2 separate regions of the Homo sapiens genome follow, and region 2 is linked to region 1. The links are contacts of gene promoters, found by promoter capture Hi-C in human tissues and cell types (Jung and others, 2019). All regions are on one chromosome and are shown on one strand. Each heading gives the region's core, a stretch centred on a gene start or on the middle of the fragment in contact. The rest is flanking DNA. Distances are from core to core; before and after follow the strand shown. Region 1 holds the start of FGF18 (fibroblast growth factor 18). Region 2 holds the start of LOC105377724 (a long non-coding RNA gene).

Evidence for each region. Contacts are between HindIII fragments. The study calls those that stand out against the background at their distance.
Region 2: a fragment that was not itself captured here is called in contact with the fragment with the promoter of FGF18 in region 1 in 1 of the 25 tissues and cell types used here (H1 embryonic stem cells).

Annotation. Positions count from the first base shown.
Region 1 is chr5:171,417,784-171,421,760 of GRCh38, reverse strand. FGF18 (fibroblast growth factor 18) reads right to left here and starts at 2,114. Exons shown (of 5, transcript NM_003862.3): 1 at 1,530-2,114; 2 at 1,318-1,354. The coding sequence starts at 1,561. RefSeq lists silencers at 1,608-1,687, 1,748-1,797, 1,938-2,047, 2,168-2,277. The HindIII fragment of the contact is 5,522 bases long and covers 1-3,977 here.
Region 2 is chr5:171,736,163-171,740,139 of GRCh38, reverse strand. It overlaps LOC105377724 (a long non-coding RNA gene), which reads left to right and starts at 2,327. Exons shown (of 5, transcript XR_001742983.2): 1 at 2,327-3,163; 2 at 3,811-3,977. It overlaps LOC105377723 (a long non-coding RNA gene), which reads right to left and starts at 1,755. Exons shown (of 2, transcript XR_941215.1): 1 at 1,671-1,755. The HindIII fragment of the contact is 7,714 bases long and covers 1-3,977 here.

The sequences.
Region 1 (3,977 bases), core at 865-3,364:
CATCAGTCCGTCCACCCTTCCATCCCCAAGCCCCAATGGATGCCCCCAGCTCAGTGCCTATCAGGAGGGTAACAACCCTCTCCTGGGCGTGGAAGGAAGATAGCAGGCCCACCACCGCCAAACACTGCGAGTGGCTGTTGAGTCGCGCAGTGCTCAAGGCACACAACACTCCTTGAGCCAGAAAACCGGGAGAACCACCAATTTCCTGTGCTCAAGGCTAGCTCTGGGGATCTCCACAATCCAGAAGGCTAAGGTCTAAGAATCTTCTCTAATCCCGGAAAGCCACCTGCCTTCCACCGAGGGGGAAGGGTCAGACAACCCTCTTTTGACCTGTGTCCAGTTCCTCCTGGCCTGGCCCCTTGCAGCACTAGGTGGGTGGGGGCTTGGGGAGCTGACGCTTCCTATTCCCTTTGCCCGCCGCCCCCCGACCCCCACCATGCAGAGGCAGCCCTGGTCTGGTTCTAATCGGGGCTGAAGTCGGCTCCCTTTTTCGCTCTTCTCTCTCCCTCCCCCCAACCCTTTTTCCTTCATTTCTACGGCTTTGGAAGCCAGAGCGTTCCAACTGTCTGCGTGCCAAGACCTTCCCGAGTCTGAAAGCTGCTGAAGTAACAGATCAGATTTTAGCAAGTGCTTTCCAGGCCGAGCGCCAAGCCCTCTTCTGATTCACGGAGAGCGAGCGAACCGGGAGCAGGCGGGGAACCAACGAGGGCTGCACCACCTTAGGCGAGGGAGTGCGGAGCGCGGCCCATCCGGGAGCGGCCTCGCGGGCAGCGGCCACTCGGCCTAGGCGCCCTCGAGCTTCCCCTCGTCCCGGGCATGTGTGTGTGTCTGTGTGTGTGTCTCAGTGCTGCAAGCGCCTTCAAAACCACAGAGTAATTTACAACTGAAGCTTTCTCCCTGGACTCGAAATCCACTCGGCTGAAAGTCTTTTTGTTTGGAAGCGGCGATGTTAAGGGAAGGTTGGCAGAGAAAATCCCTAGGTCCTACCCCTCGCTGGCTGCGGGCAGGGGTCTTAGAGCTGGGTATATTGTTGCGGCTGAGCCCGCCGGCTCTGCGGGATCTCCTCCCAGCCGAGGCCGACAGTGGCCGCGACAGCCAGCGCCTCCTCGGGCCCCGCGGCAGAGCCCCTTGCCCTTGGCCGGTTCCCCGCCGGCGCAGGGCGCACGCGGAGCCGCCCTTCCGCGCCCTGGGAACAGGTGCACTGGGCTCAGCGCCCAGGAGGGGTGGGGCACAGGGAGGGGGCGCGGCCGGGGAAGGGGGGTCGGCGTGTACCGCGAGGCAGGGGCGGGAGGAGGTCAAAGTCAGGAGCCCACGTACCTGTACCTGGAAGCACAGCAGCAGGAAGTGTAAACACCTGCGGGAAACAGATGGAGAAGCGGTCAGTGGGACCTGAGGAAGGGGGCGCACGGACAGACAGACACGCAGTCGAAGAGTCAGGTGAACCGACGGGCGGGCAGACAGAGGTACAGGGCACAGGCATACGGACAGACAGCCAGGCAAGGTGGGCAGCCCCGCGCGCGGGCGCTTACAGGCAAGTGCAGGCGGAGGGCGCTGAATACATCGCTGGGCGGGAGGGAGGCGGCGGCTCCTAGCCCAGCCTGCACATGTCCGCTCCGCGCGGCCGGGACCGGGCGCCTCCGCCGCCGCCGCCGCCGCCGCCGCCGCTGCTGCTGCTCCCTCCTCGCCGGCTGCTGCTGCTGCAGACTCTGCTGCTCCGGGGCGCTCCGCGGCGCGCCCTGCGGCATCAGCGCCCCGCGCGGCTCCTCCCGAGCGCTGCGCCCTCCGGGCTGGCGCAGGGGCTGCGGGGCGGCAGCCGCTGTGCAGGAGGCGCCTGGCCGGTGCGGGGAAGCTCGCTCACTGCTGGCCGGCCGGCCGTCCGGGCGTCCGTGGGAGGCTGGCTGCCCGGCTCAGTCCGGGGACAGCATGCGCGGCGGGTCTGGAAGCCGAGTTGCGCTCTCCGGCCCGGGCGCGGAGCTGCGTGGGGCCAGGGGTCAGCGCTCCGGGGTCGGGGCGCGCGGCTGCAGCGCGAAAGCGTCACGGCCGCTCCGTCTGGGCGCCCGCCGGCTCATGTCTCCTCCTCCGCGTCTCTCCGGCCGTGCGCATCGCCGCCTCCCACCACTGGCGGCGGCCGGGGCGTTTTCTACGCGCGGGCGGCGAGGGGGCGGGGGGCCGGGGGCGGGCCCGGGCCCGAGCCGGCACAATGAGGATGCGGGGCCTGGGGGCTCCCCCCTCGGGGCGCGGCCGGACGGGCGCTCAGCTCGCCTGGGTGCGCCCAGCCCACATCAAAGGCGGCCCTGCCTGCTCGCCTGCCTGCCGCGGCCTCTCGCTGCCTCCTCCTCCTTCTCCTGGCGGCTCGGGGTTGGAGGGGAGGCGCTCAGACTCTCGGAGACGGGACCGGCAGCTCCAAAGGGGCAGGACCCGCGAGACTGAAGCTGGTGAGCGCTGGAAGCCGTCGGAGCTCTGCGCCCGAGCGCAGTGACCGCTCCTCCGCGCAAACGTTGCCCAAATTGGGCAGGCGATGCTCCCCAAGAACGCAGTTAGGTACGGAACGTCCTCACCTGCCCACATTCGCTACTCGCACTCACTCACCAGCGCTCTAGTGGAGAGCCGAGAGGGGCGGGTCAAACCCAGCCCCGGGGCGGCTCCACTGAATGGGGGTCGCTTTTACCCGCCCTGCGATCGTGGAGTTTCCCAGCCACCCTCTTGACTGGCTACCCACTTAAGTGAGCCCCCGTCCTCTTCTTACGTCCCTGCCGCTGCGAAGGGGGCTCCCGGGCATCTCTCCTTCCCACCCCTCGCCCCCTCCGGGGCTCTGGGGTCGGTTCACGGGATCCCAGCTGGACTCTCCCGTAGGCGAGCCAGCTTTGGAAACACACGGCTACCACCAAGCGGCCCCGAGACGTCACTGCAACCCCAGCACGGACGGCTGCACGCCGGGGAGCAGCCAGCAGGACTCTGGTCAGCGACCACGCTGAGGCCCTCTTCCGGCCTCCTCCCAAAACCGGACTAAGACTTGCCTCCGTTTGCATACTAGGCAGCTTCGTTCCTTTAACCAGGGCCCCATTCAGGACACTGGTTCTTACCGCCTCTGCCCCTTCCAGAGGCATAACTCCTGTCCTTCCCACCAACCCCAAAACGTAGGTGTTCTTGTCACGTACCTGCCTCACTGTCTAGAGCTGGTGTCAGCCAAGCTCTGCTTGAGCCTGATGCTAAGGAAAATAGGTCACAGTGAGAAAGACGCTGGAGGACAGGCTCAAGCAAAACTCAGGAATCTGGACTATTTGGTTAAAGCCTCCTTGCGTTGGCAATGGTTGATGGTCCACTGGAGCATAAACTGAGGTAGGACTGTCGAACAGTGCTATTTGCTGAAGCCATGACTATAAAACATTAGTAATTGTTCCAAATATCAGGCCTCCTTGCAAGCTATTTTAAGTTCCCTTTCAAAGCTGAGGCTATTTTAAACAGATAGCCTCTGTTTCAACATCGGACACAAGTGCAGAAAACCTTTTCAAAACCAGGTGCTGAGGGGGAAAATTCCTGCATGAAGCTTTTAAGCTGAATTTACTTAGACATTCTGATTGCCAGAGCTGGACTTGCAGAGTTACTCGTAACTTCCCAAGTTCTGGAGAAAATGAATCGATCCCAAGATAGGATGCAATGACCAACCATAAATAGAAATGGACAGAAATGCTCCCACCGATGACCCGAGTCATTGCCGCCGTCTTTGATCTTGCTTTATAGGAAGATTGACAAACCCAGTCGAGGAGTTTTTGGCTTACCATCTGCTAGTTTGAAGTATCTCCTGGCTAAGAATCATGCTTCCAATTTTCTATATTGTTACTATTTTTTATTACTTGTGAATGGAATGGGTATATAATTATTTATACCCTATCTAAAATGCTTGCAGTATTTTTCAATGCTCAAAGTATATTTGCCAATCTCACCTACCAAACAAATCAGACTGACCAAAAAGTCCA
Region 2 (3,977 bases), core at 645-3,144, 320 kb before region 1:
AATTAGTTAAGTATAAATGAATCAGAACCATATGGCTTAAATGCTAAAGGAAAAAGAGTTGGAGGAAAAAATGTCCTTTGGGATTTAATCAAACAAAAATTGCTGGAAAAATCGTTGATGTCCACCAAGCTCAGACCCCAACTGGGTGCCCTCCAATCCTGCTTTAGCATTTCTCTCCTTCCCAAGGTACTCGCCGTGAAGCAAGGGTGACTTCTGGGTCCTGCTCTCTTGATGCTGGGCGTCATAGGGATGGAGTAGGTGTGGAGTGGGCACTAAGGCTCAGGGAATCTGGGGAGCACTGAGAAGGGGTGCCCAAGTCAGCCCTTGGCAGACTGGGAATGGCTTCCCTGTGGAGATGAAACTGAGCCAGGATTACAAGTAGACGAGGGATTGTGGGGCTGGGGTGGAGTGGGCATTTTGGAGGAGGCAGTGGCGTATGCACGTGCACAGAGGATAGACGAAACCTGGGACGATCATGGAACTGCAAGAAATTTGGAGTGGCTGGTTCTCAACTCATGCCTTCCTTCCCTGGCCACCCAATTAAAGGCACACGGCCTCTTCCATTCACTCTCAATCACATCGCCCTGTGGCATTCTCCTAGCAACACTTTTCACAGAAAGAAAGAAATGCTCTCATCTCTTTCTTTCTCTCATTGTTATTTACATTCCCTGGCATGTAAGCTTCTTAAGAGAAAGGCTCTTGTTTGTCTTGTCCCCCCACTGTGCACTGTGGTTCTAGCAGCTAACACAGCATCTGACTTGGAGTGGCTGCCCAGTACGCATTTGAAGAATGAATGAATGGAAAGTGAATGAGCGAATGGCTGGAGAGTAGAAGACGTGAGGGATGGGGAAAGAAGAAAGACTGGAGAAGTGGGCAGGTGCCAGGCCTGGAAGACTGTACGTGGTGCTAAGAGGCCCCTGAAGGTAATGGAAAGCCAATCAAGGGTTTCTAGGAGGATGTGATGAGGATGCGATAAGGTAACACTGTGTTATGTTGTTGGGAATCAGTGAAGGTGGGAAACCTGGAACCCTGGAGAAAATGAGTGACAACCAAATCCTACGTTTGTTTGGTGTTTCCCCATCATCCCTCAAAGGGTGTGTAAGATAGTGAGCCATGTAGAATAAGTAATTAATTAATGCTGCGGGTTAATAAGGGGTAGATGACTCTCAATTGCTACATGCAAGCTGTTATTTTCTCATTTAGAAAAAGGATCTTGTGGCTCACTGTGGAAAATCATCTTCCAGAAAAAAGAAAGAGACATGTATGTCGGCTCTGTCTAGAATATTTTCTCTGAACCAGAATCTCTTTCCGTAGGGTAGCTGCCCTTGGCAACTCTCGGGTTACAAGAAGCTGGGCAGGAGATTCCTGTGACATTTCAGCAGAGTCACGAGTGGGTGGGATGGGGAAGCTCCGAGCTGCAAAATAGGTAAGTTGCTCAATGTCCCTGGAAAACCTCCGAGGACAGAACTGAGTGTGATTTGGGGGAGTATTTTAGGTTCAGAGACATCTTTATGTTAGGCGAGAAATTCATGCCCCAGGCTCGTGGAGTTGCTCATAACAGTGTGTTATTGCTGGAAGCCCCAGAGGAGCTTGGACTCAGCTCCCTTAACAGGGGGCTGAGCCTCTCTGAGAAAGCTGTTTACTTCCCCAGACACATCAGTCTCACTTACCCATGTTTATTGCTTCTGCTCCTCTGCTTTACCCTCCAGGCCTCAGGTGCAGGAGAAGCCAGTCCTCTTCTCTAAACAGAAGACACTGCAATCACCGTAGCTAGATCTTCCTTAGTGTTTGCCATGTACCCGCTCTCGTTCCAGGCGTGTTCTAGGTGTATCATCTAACTGGGCCTTCAGAGCTCGGAAGCTCAGAGAGCTGAAATCACTTGCTCAAGGTCACACAGTCAGTACAAGTGGAGGTTTGAGCACTGCGCCTCTTAGAGTCCCTCACCTCAGGTGATTTTAACCCTTACATATGGAGCTTGCCAGAAACTCAAGCCCACCCTTTTCCTCCACACCATGTAACTCTGCCCTGGTTTTATCAAGAAGCACCTGCCTTCTCTTCTGGATTTAAATAGTAACGTTTGTGGTGAGCATTTGTGGGCTTGGGACTGTTCAGTGGCCAGCAGCACTTCCATTCCCTATGGAGACCCACCCTCCATTGTGTGCCATCACGGCACAGTGGGTGATGAACTTGCCCCTTACACAGAAGCACAAACACCCAGTTCTCCCCCTCTCTTCTCCAGCTGCAACCAAACGGTATGCACATAATCCAGGCTAGGGTAGCCACATGTTCCCTCCAGGACTTGGACCCTTGAGTGAGTGATTTGGGGCCGGGAGGAGCGGCTGGAGGCTCTCCAGGCCAGCGGCAGCGGTGGCGTGCTGGCCACCCATTCTCGTGACCTTGCTAAGGCCCCTGTTGCTTAACTCTCTGGCAAGCCCTTGGTTTCTGGCCATTTTCCAGACTTCATCACTCTTCTCTGCCAATTCTATGAGCCCCTGATAGCCTTCCAATAAATTCCACTTGATTACCACATGGCTTGCAATCAAGAACCCAGCATAACACACAACCACTTATTAAATACTAAGTAAGAGCCAGACACTTGACATGTGACATCTTGTCAGATCCTCAAACACCCCGGTGAGGAAAGCGTTATTATCCCTGTTTTCCAAATGAGGACACTGAGGCTCAGGGAGCTGGGTGATGTGTCAAAAGTTGCCCAGCTGCAGAGTGGCAATGCTGGAATTTGAAGCCAGGCTTTTCTGATTCTGAATTCCATGTTTTCTTACTTGCCTTTTTCTTCTGCTCCAGCTTGCAGTGCCTCGGAGAGGTGGCGCTGGCTAGCCTGGGACTTCCAACATACAGCCTACATTGATGGCCTGAGACTTGTGGCAAAAAAGACTTTCAAAATCTAATTTGCTCACATACATGAACACCTGCCAGGAAGGAATTTGAGGCCTTTGTTCTAAACATGGAAAAGCTGAGTTCATTTGCCCCAGAGGGGGCACCTGCAGGGAAAAGGAAAAATGGTTTTAACCCTTTCCTTGAGTCAGAAAATGAGGCCACCAGATTCTCCTTTCATCCTTCAAGTATCAGAAAGGTCTGTGCTGTGAATTCCACAGATGAGATTCATTGCAAGATGTGAGGGCAGAGGAAATCCATGGAAATGGTGAGTTCTTTCATATTTGTGCCTTTCTATTGTCAGTTTGGGGATATTTGAGAGAAGTTTGAGCTGCGTATGAAGAACCCATTTACTTTTATGCAGCTTTCTGGGGGAAATTTTGGAATTCCTCAAATCCAAGAATTTTGAGATTTTAGAACCTCCAAGAGGCCTGACCTGTTGAACAATCCCCCAGCCTTCATGCCCCAACCGCCTCTCCAGTGACTCCTCATAACTATACTTTATTTTTTTCTTTATTCTCTTTTTTCGAGACAGGGTCTCACTCTGTCATCCAGGCTGGAATGCAGTGGTGTGATCATAGCTCACTGCGGCCCTGATCTCCTGGGCTCAAGTGATCCTCCCGCCTCCGCCTCCCAAGTAGCTGGGACTATAGGCATGCCACCACGCCCAGCTAATTTTCTATTTTTTATTTTGTAGAGTTGGGTTTTCACCATGTTGCCCAGGCTGGCCTCGAACTCCTGGGCTCAAGCAATCCTCCCGCTTTGGCCTCTCAAAGTGCTGGCATTACAAGTGTGAGCCACCACGCCCAGCTTTGTACTTTCTTAATGATGTGAAAAGACATCTGAGTAAATCTGTAGTTGAGAGTGCAGGAAAAAGAAACCCTATCACACACTCTTTTGTCAACCGAATTGCAGAAATCCACATTCAAACTGGATGCATGCGTTCAGCAACTGGAAGCTGAGTTCATATTTCATTGCCCAACTACCCTGACCACTTGGGAATCGCAGGTTTGGAAGGACCCACAGCCATTCTGTGGAAATGGATCTGCTTTCAGGACCGAATCTCAGACTTCTTGGGGAAG